Regions from separate parts of the Homo sapiens genome. Here regions 2, 3 and 4 are each linked to region 1. The links are contacts of gene promoters, found by promoter capture Hi-C in blood cells and fetal thymus (Javierre and others, 2016). All regions are on one chromosome and are shown on one strand. The core of a region is centred on a gene start or on the middle of the fragment in contact, and the rest is flanking DNA. Distances in the headings are between cores, read along the strand shown.

The links. Contacts are between HindIII fragments. The CHiCAGO score rates a contact against its expected background, and 5 or more counts as called.
Region 2: a contact is called between a fragment that was not itself captured here and the fragment with the promoter of HTATIP2 in region 1, in 5 of 17 cell types (non-activated CD4 T cells, total B cells, naive CD4 T cells and 2 more). The highest score is 13.1, in non-activated CD4 T cells.
Region 3: a fragment that was not itself captured here is called in contact with the fragment with the promoter of HTATIP2 in region 1 in 1 of 17 cell types (activated CD4 T cells); the score reaches 5.8 in activated CD4 T cells.
Region 4: a contact is called between a fragment that was not itself captured here and the fragment with the promoter of HTATIP2 in region 1, in 7 of 17 cell types (non-activated CD4 T cells, total B cells, naive CD4 T cells and 4 more). The highest score is 10.8, in non-activated CD4 T cells.

The regions. Positions count from the first base shown.
Region 1 is chr11:20,362,172-20,365,112 of GRCh38, reverse strand. HTATIP2 (HIV-1 Tat interactive protein 2) reads right to left here and starts at 1,399. Exons shown (of 5, transcript NM_001098522.2): 1 at 681-1,399. The coding sequence starts at 875. RefSeq lists silencers at 1,050-1,192, 979-1,398. The HindIII fragment of the contact is 1,649 bases long and covers 851-2,499 here.
Region 2 is chr11:22,835,718-22,838,658 of GRCh38, reverse strand. It overlaps LINC02718 (long intergenic non-protein coding RNA 2718), which reads right to left. Exons shown (of 11, transcript NR_187210.1): 3 at 295-430. Among named protein-coding and RNA genes, the nearest start is that of SVIP, 7.4 kb to the right of the region's middle. The HindIII fragment of the contact is 229 bases long and covers 1,424-1,652 here.
Region 3 is chr11:17,999,964-18,002,904 of GRCh38, reverse strand. SERGEF (secretion regulating guanine nucleotide exchange factor) reads left to right here. Exons shown (of 11, transcript NM_012139.4): 5 at 2,348-2,408. Among named protein-coding and RNA genes, the nearest start is that of SERGEF, 12 kb to the left of the region's middle. The HindIII fragment of the contact is 3,312 bases long and covers 1-2,941 here.
Region 4 is chr11:22,632,052-22,634,992 of GRCh38, reverse strand. It overlaps a transcript of GAS2 not described here. Among named protein-coding and RNA genes, the nearest start is that of FANCF, 7.7 kb to the right of the region's middle. The HindIII fragment of the contact is 205 bases long and covers 1,333-1,537 here.

The DNA.
Region 1 (2,941 bases), core at 150-2,649:
ACTCGGGAGGCTGAGGCAGAAGAATCGCTTGAACCTGAAAGGCAGAGGTTGCACTGAGCCGAGATCGTGCCACTGCACTCCAGCCTGGGGGACAGAGTGAGACTCCGTCTCAGAAAAAAAAAAAAAAAAACCTTTAACTTAGAGTGAAGGGAATATCCGATTTACAGACACAAGCCTGGGAAGTCAGGCAGGGCAAATTCTTGTAAGTGAATAATCCCACCTTTCACTGCCATAGACCTATCTCACTCTGCAAAGCAGTTTCAGAATCCCTGACAATATTAGTGTGAAGTGCGCAGGTTGACAAAATCAGCAAAGTGGCTGAGAAAATTCTCAAGGTCACCAGGGCTGCCTCTAGAATACAGCTTGTATGACCCTGAAAACAGTGCTCTTCTGTCTCACCAGCCCCCACCCCCATTACAACCCAGACCCAGCTTTATAGGGTTGCAGATGGAGAGAAGGGCTTTGCCCAAGACCACACAATGAGCGGGAGGGAGGCACACCTGGGCTACAATCCAGGAGTCAGACTTCTGGGAGGGACTCTCACAGACCAATCTTGGCCAAGTTTTGATGGCCTCTCACTACCCCCACCACTGGCAGGGCAGTATTCAGCCTTTAGGCATGAAATATGTTCACCTCGCAGAATCCTGGGGGTCCATTTGAGTCCCAGCTGAAATACCCACCACATTTTTATAAGCTTCCTCGTCGAAGGTGAGCTTCCTCCGGCCAATGAGCGTGACTTTGGAAAACAGGCCCTGCTCCAGGATTTCCTTTAAGAGCACTCTGCCGGTTTCTCCGCTGGCGCCCAAAATAAAGACGGATTTATTCTGCATCCTGAAGTCTTCCCGAAGCTTCGACAGGGCTTCTGTTTCGGCCATGCTGGGGAAATAACATCGACAGATGCCGGTCTTAGGGTGTCAGGGGACTGCCAGTCCTTATCCCGAGGAACAAGGGCTGTTTATCTGTTAGGGAGGAGGATATTGTTCTCCGCAGTCCGGGCTCTGGGGAAAGTGCTGAGTCACGTGCGGGGCGCGGCTCCCCGGCCATCGCCCGCACCTGAGCCAGCAGACCCATCGGAAGGGGCCCGAGCTGGAGGGTGCGCCCAGGTGCCACAAGCTGCTGGCATCACTGGGCATACCCCACGGTATCCCCGGCCCGGCCAGGAGACCTGGCCCAGCTCGGTCCCATACGCGGAGGGGTTACCTGGGGCCAGCCCCCGGCCCCGGGTCCTCACGACGCAGCAGGAGCAGGGCGGCCGCCAGAGCAGCCGCCGCCGCCGCGCTCAGCGCCGCAGGCCCGGCCATCAGAGCATCCCACCTTCCCTGGTCGGACCGGGGGGGTTGGAGGCGACGGAGACAGCGCCTACCCGGCTTGGTCTTCCGGGTGGCCTCGCGGCGACGCTGCCTCGCCCCGCCCACAGGGGCGGGACCTGGAGACGAACTCCTGGCACCCTCACAGGCGCGGGGAAGGTGACCCCGAGAGCACGTGCGCGGAGCCGCGACCCTTCCTAAGTTTGGAATCTGCAAGACCCTCTTCCCGCGTTTTCCCTCACCTGCTGGGCTCAGCTCACCCAGGCGCCAGCTAGTAGACTTGCCAGACTTGATCTTCAATGGTCCCCCCAGCTGGAATGTCAATTGTATATTGGCCATCATCTCAAATTCACCAAGTCAAAAACTTAACCCTGCCTACCCAACCACCCCAAACAGGAATAAAACAAACCTATTCCTAGCCTCTCTTGGGTGTCACTGTCCCTACATAAACATACACACACACACGCACACACACACACACCTCCTTCTACCCTGTCAAGTCAGAAATCAGGATTCCTTTGATTCCTTTCTTTTCTAGCCTTTCCACACTACAGACTTATCAAGTCCTGTTATCCCATCTGCCTTACAAATATTTCTCCCATGTAATTCAAGCTCGCATCATATCTCCCCAGAATAAATGGTCTACCTGCCCAGGTCCTGGCCTAATTCATCACCTAGATGGTTGAACCCGGGTGACCTTCCACACCTGTGATTCAGTCTTCCTAGCCCAGATCAGTGGTTTGGGACACAGGTATCTACACTGGGCCTGTCCTGGATCTTGGAAGTCCTGAACAGAGGTTAGAATGACAAGCAGAAATCTGAATAATTTCAGATTGTTCAGGTTTTGTTGGGAACATTGGTCATTTGGGGGCCCCACCTCCCATCTAGAAGCCAATGAAACACATTGCCTCTTCCATCTCCATGGGAGTTATTATATGTAGGCTTTGCCTAGGCTCAGCAAGCCAGAGGCTCACGCATAGGTTTTCAGTTTTGGAGGAGTAATGAAAAGATGCAGTGAAGGCCTGAGATATATGTGGGTTGGTTGGGGCAAGGGTATAGGATTATGGCATCATATGATCCACCAGCCATCTGATGGTCTGATCTTGTCTTAAATTCCTGCCTGTTTTCAGAGACTGTTGTGAATACAGTACTTCCTGTTATTCTTCTGATAAATTCCTGTGCTGTATAAGCTTACCAGATATATTCTGTTGTTTGCAATAAAAAAGCTTGATTAATATAGAGCAGTGTGGTTCATTCCCCACTGGCCTGTCACAGTGCCTGGACTCTTCCCTTTGAGTTCCTAAAGGTTTTCTACAAGAATGCAATGTTAAACCTTGTCAGCAAACACTGTCCTAGTAATTCATTTATCAAATCTGTCACAGAAATTATTCATTGTACCCTGTCTATTCTTCCCCTTTGTTTAAAATTGTGGCATAATTAATATACAATAAAATGTACAGAACCTAAAGGTTCTGTTCCATGATTTTAGGAGATTGTATATACACCTAAATAACCACCACCAAAAACAAGATATAGAGCATGTCTGCCATCCCTGAAAGTGCCTTCATTCCCTTCTTGCAATCTCTCCCCACTCCAGAGGTAATCACTTTCTGGTCACTATCAACATAGATTAG
Region 2 (2,941 bases), core at 289-2,788, 2.5 Mb before region 1:
TAGATAGATAGATCGATCGATCTTCACAACTCATGATTGGTAGTATTATACCCAGGAGGCTTTGTTACAAAATATTTTTATCCTGTTAGTAAAGAATTTCCTTTAATTCTATAGTAAGCAGAAAATTTTTATGGTTGGGGTGGATGCAAAAGTGACACATAATAGCTTAGAAGGCAACTAAACTTGTTTTACCTGCTGTTTAGGCATTTTTGTACCCCCTTTCTTGATTTGGAGGGTTTGACCTTAAGCTAATTTTTTCCCTGAAAGCCGGTCCTTACAATCTTATGCACCCACCTCTTCTGCAATAGTCCAGGCAGCTTGTATAGTTTTGGCAGCAGAACATTAGCAGTGAAACAGGTCCAGGCCCAGTGGGATGCCAAACGAGGGAGATTCATACCTCTGGTTTTCAAAATACCATGATTTTGGTTTCCTTGGATGTAAAACAAGGAGAGATAATTAACATTTATAGTTTGACAATTATAGGAGTAATTCATAGATCAGAATAGAAAAAGGAACCTATTACATTAGGGTACCAACTAAAAATATGAAGAAAAATTATAACTTGGTGCTTTCTAGAGGATTCTTGTAGCCAAGAAATAATGATTTAATCTGTACTCAAAAAGTTAGGGCTGAAATCTAGTATTAAGTGTTACGCTTTACCCTTGAAACATTTTTTCTAGCTGCCCTTTTTATTAAACAAAAAGTTATAGCAAGGCCAATTTGCGTGCAAGGTAAGTTTTAGGCTTATTATGCTTGCCTGAATAGCTGCATAAAATGCAGCAAGAATTGATTGGCCATATAGACTCCTTTCGAGTTGGTTTTGCTGAAAGTTTACCTAAAAATAGAATATTTTAGTTTCAGTCTTGGTAAAATAACCAGTGTCTCCAATTGTTTGAAGAAAAAAAAAACTATAATTGAACTTAGGCAGACAACTATATTGTCATAAAATTCAATCTGAATTTTGGAGGACTCAGAAAGGTAAGTTTGCTTACAAAAATGTACTTTATCCAAATAACTTAAAAGATTTTTTTTTTTTTGACCCTTCTTTAACCAGAGCCGCAGCTTTTAAAACAAGTGTTTGTTTACCTGGGAAATGCCATTTACAAACCAAACAGCTAATGAGAACTATTAGGCACTGTAGAATTTAGCAGCTCCTCACAATTAGTCCTAGAAAAGAGGCTCTCTGCTTATTAAGTAGCAAGATTTTGTGTAAGCCATTTTTATTTTATCATAGGACTCTTTTGGGAAACATAATTTCCATTAGCATAGGGGTAGCTTCAGTTAATATCTCATAGCAAGGCAGTAAATGCCCTATCAAGTAGAAATTCTCTAGTTCGGTCATTGTCATTGAAAGGTACTCACAGTTTTTTCCATCAGCCCCGATAAAAGCTCCACATAAAGGGCTATGCAGCAAAGGAAAGCTTTACCCTATATTTTGTGGGCTTTTACTAGTTCCTATTTAGTGTGTTTAAATAACATTTTTAAATAAATAAATTTAATAAATGTTTAAATAACATTTCCTAAAGAGCCGATTTATATGTCTTCAGTTTTTATAGTACTAGAAAAGAGAAAAACAACCCCCAGTTAGATACAGTACCCATTTTCATAAGACTTTTTGGTAAAAGGGGGTTACAACTACCTTACATAAAGCTTGTTTAAACATCTTAAATTTTATAATTCTATTAAACTGTATGTTTTTATGTTCAGGTCTCAGGAACCCTTTTTTACCCCCAGACCATTTTACCTTTTCTGGTGAAAAGGATTTGGTTTCCCAGCAGGGAGTTACATCTATAAGACCTATGAGGGACCGCAGATTTGATAAGTCTACTTAAATAGTCCTGTCATTCTGTCAGAGGAGCACCCACGTAAAGGGGGTCCCCTAACCCCCAAATTTACCATGACCTAGGTAATATGCATATTTGGCAGGAGGATATCCCAGTTATAAAGCTAGTCCAACATGGCTTGCATATGAAACATATTAACTGCTTCATCTGGTGTACTTCACTTGGTATTTTATAGGAAGAGTGGGGCAGTCAACCCTTCTCAGGGCAAAGAGAACTTACAATGGCATTATCTGGCCCACTAGGCAGGAATAAACATGAAACTACTTGATCAATAAATGCAAACAAAATGCTAACATTGTTGATATTATTTTACCAATAGTTTTAAAGCCATCTTATTTATTAAAGATTTTACTTAAGTCATGTGAACCTGAAAAAATATTTGACTAGTCTTTTCTTTTTTAAGTCTCTGATTTAAGCACTTTTACCTATTTTTTTAGCCAATTAATTGGAACTCTTTACATATATATATTTTAGCAGTGAAACACTGCATAACATAAATACATGGACATATCTAGGCATGCCGATAGAGGTACATTTTATAGATTCATAAAGACTTCCTTTTCCTTTTTTTTTTTTTCAATTTTAGATTTTCAAATTCTCGATAACATGTTGCACCACCCTAAGCAGTTTTCAGCTAAATAGACATAAATTTGCATATTAAAGGAAACAACCCAGGTGACAATCAGATAGCAAAATTTACGTAATAAGGTACAAAAAGAAAAAGTTTGGTACGCTAAAGGAAAATTAAAATGAATGTAACTTCCAATTAAACATAAAATTATAGAATTTATGAAGGCCTTCAAATACATACACACATATATACATACATATACGTACACACACAAAGATCCTATAGATTTACTTTAGTACTTTGGCCATGAGATGAATATAAATTTGCCGGTTTGCAAAAAAACGGTTAGATCCAAACAGTGGTTTTTTATCTCAGTATGAAAGTAACACCAGATTTAAAGCAGGCAGAAAATAGAGAAAGAGAACTTAGGAACTCTATAGTTTGCAGGTCGACCTTAGGCACCTTTTTCCTTAAAGTAAAATGTACACAAAGACTATATTACTTCCATTTTCCATAAACTCTGGAA
Region 3 (2,941 bases), core at 154-2,653, 2.4 Mb after region 1:
TAAAAACATTTTGACAGGTGACATTCTATGCAACAATAGGAGCAATGTGCCAAAGAGAAATTTAATAGAAATTCATTCATTTATTTAATGACAACCATTATGTGTAGGTACTATGTTTAGGCAGTGGGAGCAAAGTTGAATAAGACCTGTCCTAGCAGTTGAGAGTTTTATAGTTTGGTAGGACATGATAGGCACATAAATACTTAAATGTAATACCATGTCAGAACTATGACAGATGCATGTATATCCCCAAAGGAGGGAGTTTTGAGCATCTGGGGGAAGGTGGGGTGAGAAGAGGCTTAAGCTAGGTCTCAAAAGTTAAATAGAGGTTTACCCGTCTTGGGATAGGAGGATGCTCAGAGTGGGTGCAAAAGAAGAACATTCTAGGCAGAAGGAACCATGTAAGCAAAGGTGCAACGGAATGAAACAGGAGAGTTTGGGATATCGTAAGTAGTTTAGTATGGTTGGAATATAAGGAAGAGGTGGAAGTTCCAGGGTAGAGTGGGTGGGAATGGGGCAATCAGGGTGGTTGTATGTGACACATGGTAAGAACAACATGGTAGGGAGGTCAGATAGGAAGATGGATTGAAGGAAGGTTACTGAGGAAACTCTTGCTAACAATCCAAATGAAACAATTGTGGCTCAAACTAAAGCAGCAACAGTTGGGATGGAGAGTAAGAGGTGGAGGTGAGTGGTGTTAAAGAGACTGAAGTCACATGTAAAGCCCTTCAGTTAGTTTTTTGGGGAAAAACAAAAGAAAAATATAAAGGACAATATGTTCAAATTGTATTAACGCTAAGATTTGATCTTCTCGTAAGCTAATGTGATTGTGGACTCCATTGACAGAAGTATAGTTTCCAGAAGAAGGAAGGCCAAAGCTCAGCCCTTTCTGCTGTTCAGCCTGCATCTGGGATGTTGTGTTTTGTTGTGGATTTGGTGCTTAGGCCCTGGGCATAAAGGTATATAAGACTCAGGTCCTGCCCTTGAGGGTCCTAAAGTTTAGAAAGACACTGTGGACCTGTAAATAAACAAATGTGGTAAGCCTTAATGGGGTTATGATTATGCTATAGAGTTCCTTTAAAAGAGAAAGATTGAACAACTAGAGCATATTTAGAGAAGTGAAGACCAGGAGGGGAAGGGAATTTGAAATCCAGTGATGGCTGATGAATGGGGGATATTTGCTTTGAAGAAAAGATCTTCATTAGTTATCTATTGCTGTGTAACAAATTACTGCAAACCTTAGCAGCTTAAAACAGCAAACATTTATTATGTCACAGTTTCGGAGAGTCAGGAATTTAGGAACAGCTTAGCTGGTCTCTCATGAAGTTACAGTTGAGATGTTAGCTGGGTCTGCTTGCAATCTCCGTGGACCTGTAAATAAACAAATGTGGTAAAGCCCTAATGGTTTCATGTTCCTTGCCATGTGGACCTTTCTATTGGACTTTTCAGACATAGCATCTGGTTTCCCCCAGGAGTGATGAGAGAGAGAGGGAGAGATGCTAAGCAGGAAGCCTTAGTGCCTTTTTTCGCCTAGACTCTGAGTCACTCATTGCTGCTTTATTCTCTTTATTAAAAGCATGTCACTAAGTCCAGCCCACACAAGGGGAGGGGTATTAAGCTCCACATCTTGAAGGGAGGAGTAGCAAGAATTTGAGGACCTATTTTTAAAACCACTACAAGATGTCTTAGAGAGGACATGACAACTGTCTTCAAATATTTGGAAAGCATTGTCAGAAGCTGCAGGCAGATAGGTTTGGTTCCACCTAAAGAGATAAATGGAACTGTGCAAAAATGGAACAGGCACCTGGGGAAATGGCGATCCCTATGTCACTGGGGGTAGGTGTTTGGCAGGAGTTGGATGACCACTTGGTGGGGTGTTGTTGGATGGAGATTGGACTAGATCATGTTGGGAAACTTTGAGCCCTTGGTAAATAAAGTCTTACTGGCACACAGTCATGCTCATTCATTTATGTATAGTCTAGAGCTGCTTTTATGTTACAATGGCACAGCTGAGTAGTGTGACAGAAACTGTGGCCTGTAAAACATTTACTAACTGTCCCTTTACAGAAAACATTTACTAACTCTTGGACTAGATGACCTTAGAAGTGCCTCCCAGCCCTGAGAGTTGTTGTCATATGGTATTGTGATATGGTATTTTAAAAGATATATTTTTTTCTTTTAGGGATAAATGTAGAGGTATTAATGGGTGGAAATATTGGGGGGAGTGGTTGCTTTAAACCAGTCAGACCCATAATGAGGACCGTACTGCATTGTATTTGGTATAAATTACATAAAATTTTGTAGATGGATGGTTCTGAGATCTAAATCCTTTTCTTTATTTTGACAGCTCCATAAAGAGAAGGTTGTTTGTATTGCTGCTGGACTGAGGCATGCAGTAGCTGCTACAGGTGATCATCTTATCTTTATTTTTTTATTTTTATTTTTAATACTTTTTAGAGATGGGGTCTCACTCTGTTGCCCAGGCTGGAGTGCAGTGGCTCGATCATAGCTTGCTGTAGCCTTGAACTCCTGAGCCCAAGCTGTCTAACTGCCTCAGCCTCCTGAGTAGCTAGAACTATAGGTGCATGCCACCATGCCCTGCTAATTTTTAAGATTTTTTGTAGAGACAGGGTCTCGCTATGTTGCCCAGGCTGGTCTTGAATTTCTGGCCTCAAGCAATCCTCCCGCCTTGGCCTTCCAAAGTACTGGGATTACAAGTGTGAGCCACTGTGCCCAGCCTGCCCTCCGCCTTTTAAAATAGGTCTGTAATAAGAGGAAACTTAACTTTAGGAGAAAAACCATTTAGGAAATATTTCAAAGGGTCCTGCTGCATTGTGGTTCTGATGAAAAGGAGAGAACATAAGGCAGAAGTCATGTAGGAAAGACATTAGCAGGTAGAGAGGAAGGAAATGAAGTTTTCTAGCTCTTTGTGTTCTAGGTA
Region 4 (2,941 bases), core at 186-2,685, 2.3 Mb before region 1:
TCCCCTGAAGGAGAAAACTTTTGGATGACCTCAGTTAGCACCATTGTGGGCATCACTCTGGCTAACCAGGAGGTCTTGAGTCTATTCACGTGACCAGCATATTACTACTACAGCTGGCATTTGAGAATAGCAACACATTAAGGCCATTTATAACCAAGAAAATCTCACAACCAAGAAAATCTCACAGAGTCTACATCACTCCCCTGCCACCCCCATCAGAACTTCTGCTGGTACCCACTACTGTGAGATTAGAGAACAGGTCCTATCACTGGATCCCTTCCAGACATTCCCCAGCACCATCCTGGAGAATGGCAGCCCCACTGGGTGGCTAGAATCAGAAGAGCAGCAGCAGGATTCACAGTAGTTTGGCCCTCAGGGATCCCTCCTCCTAGGGGAAGTGGGAATATACCACATCAAGGGAGCACCCCGTGAGACCAAAGAATCCAGACTGCAGGCCTTGAGTCCCAAAACTGTCTATTTGTGGGGAGTTTATTTCAGCAAAGGCACAACAGGTGCAGTGTGGGGCTCAGTGGAGAAAGTTTGTGCCTCTACTCCAACTGTCAGCTAGCCCTGGTGCTCATGAAGGAACCTGGGGAAGAAGACTTTTTCTTCCTGATATGGTTTGGTTGTGTCCCCACCCAAATCTTATCTTGAATTGTAGCTCCCATAATTCCCACATGTTGTGGGAGGAACCCAGTGGGAGATAACTGAATCATGGGAGCAGTTTCCCCCATTATGTTCTCATGGTAGTGACTAAGTATCACAAGATCTGATGGTTTTATAAGCGGAAACCCCTTTCACTTGGCTCTCATTCTCTCTTTGCTGGCCACTGTGTAAGACATCCCTTTGCTCTTCCTTCATGTTCCGCCATGAATGTGAGGCCTCCCCAGCCACGTGGAACTGTGAATCAACTAAACCTCTTTTCTTTATAAATTGCCCAGTCTTGGGTATGTCTTCCTCAGCAGTTTGAAAACAGACTAATACACTTCCTCTTGCCCATCACTGCAAACATAGCTGTGGCTTCTCCCACAAGAGCTTGGCATGGGTACACATGTAGAGAGGCTTCCTGGAACACTTTCGGGTGACTGCATCCCCACAGGAGGAGTGCCCTCCAGGTGCAGACTTACATGAGGGATAGAGTCATAGTCCTTTTCTACATGTAACATCACCATTCCTACAGAAGAAAAGGGATGCCTGTCTCATCTGAATAGCTAGAACACTGGGTCAGGAGTGTGACTGGGAGTTGGATCACTTTCCTGCTGGCCTGGTTGGGGAACTACAGTGGCTCCTCCCTTCACCCTGAAAAGACCTTAGTGCATTTCACTGAAAGCTTCTCCAGCTGCCTCTGTCAAGGTTAGGACCTCTGCCCATCACTGGATATTGCATTCCACACCTGCTTTAGCTGCAGCCTGTTTTTACCCATGAACACCTCCTACTGGCCTGAAGCCTGAACTGTTCAACCCAGTGAATAAAATACTGGGAAAATAAATAAATTAATTAATGAATTAATGTACACCACTGGGGAACAAAATAAGCTTTGTGACATCTTTGTCATTCTGGCCCCATAGGAGACAGTAAACCTGCTCACACACTGAGCACATTGCTACTATAACCAGCATCTGAGAAGGCCATCACACCAAGGAGTTCATACAGATGTTTCACACAGATTCTTCATCACTGAAAACACCAAGAGCTGAAATAGGCTAAAATAAACTATAAACATTACAGTCATATCCTCAAGAGGGAAAAACAGAAATTGAAAAACCACATTTGAATAAAAAATAAATTCAAGAAGTAATTAGAAGAAATGGTCTACCCAAATGAGAAGAAATCAGAAAAACAACTCTAGCAATATGTAAAAACATGATTCTATAACACCACAAAGATTCCACTGACTCTCCAGCGATGGATCCAAACTAAGATGAAATCTTTAAAATACCAGATAAAGAGTTCAAGAGGTTGATTATTAAGTTCCTCAAGGAAATACAAGAAAAAGGTGAAAAACAACACAATAAAATGTAAAAGAAAATCAGGTTATGAATGAAAGATTTCCTAAACAGATTGATATTTTAAAGAAAAAAAAAATCAGAACTCTGGAAACAAAAGACACATTTAGGGAATTACGAAATGCAGGGAAAAGTTTTAACATTAGACTAGACCATGTGGAATAAAGAATTCCAGAACTTGAAAACAAGGTTTTTGAATTAACCCAATCACACAAAAATAAAAAAAAAAAGAATGAAAAGAAACGAATAAAATCTCTAAGAAACATGGGATTATGTAAAAGGGCCAACCTAAGAATTATTGATGCTCCTGAGTGGGAAGAAAAAGCAAAAAGTTTTGAAAACTTATTTATTTGAGGGAATAATTAAGGAAAACTTCCCTGGCTTTGCCAGCAATTTAGATATTCAAATACAAAAACCTCAAACAACTCCTGGGAAATGCATTGCAAAAAGGCCAACACCAAGAGCTAAAGTCATCAGGCTATCTAAAATCAATGTGAAGAAAAGAATTCCAAGAGCAGTGTGAAAAAAGCATCAGGTAACCTACAAGGTAAAACCTTTTAGACTAACAGCAGACTTCTCAGCAGAAGCCTTATAAGCCAGAAAGGGCTATGGTCCTATTTTAGCCTCCTTAAACAGAATAACTATCAGCCAACAATTTTGTATCCAGTAAAGCTAAGTTTCATAAATGAAGGAAAAATAAACTGTTTCTCAGACAAGCAAATGCTAAGGGAATATGTCACTGTTTGACTATTAGCTAGTTTAACCAAGAAAAGAAGAGAGAAGATCCAAATAAGCTAAATTAGAAATGAAAATGGAGATGTTACAACCAACCCCAAAGAAATAAAAAATATCCTTCAAGACTACGAAGAACACCTCTTTGCAAACAAACTAGAAAATCTAGAGAAAATGAATACATTTCTTGAAACACACAACCC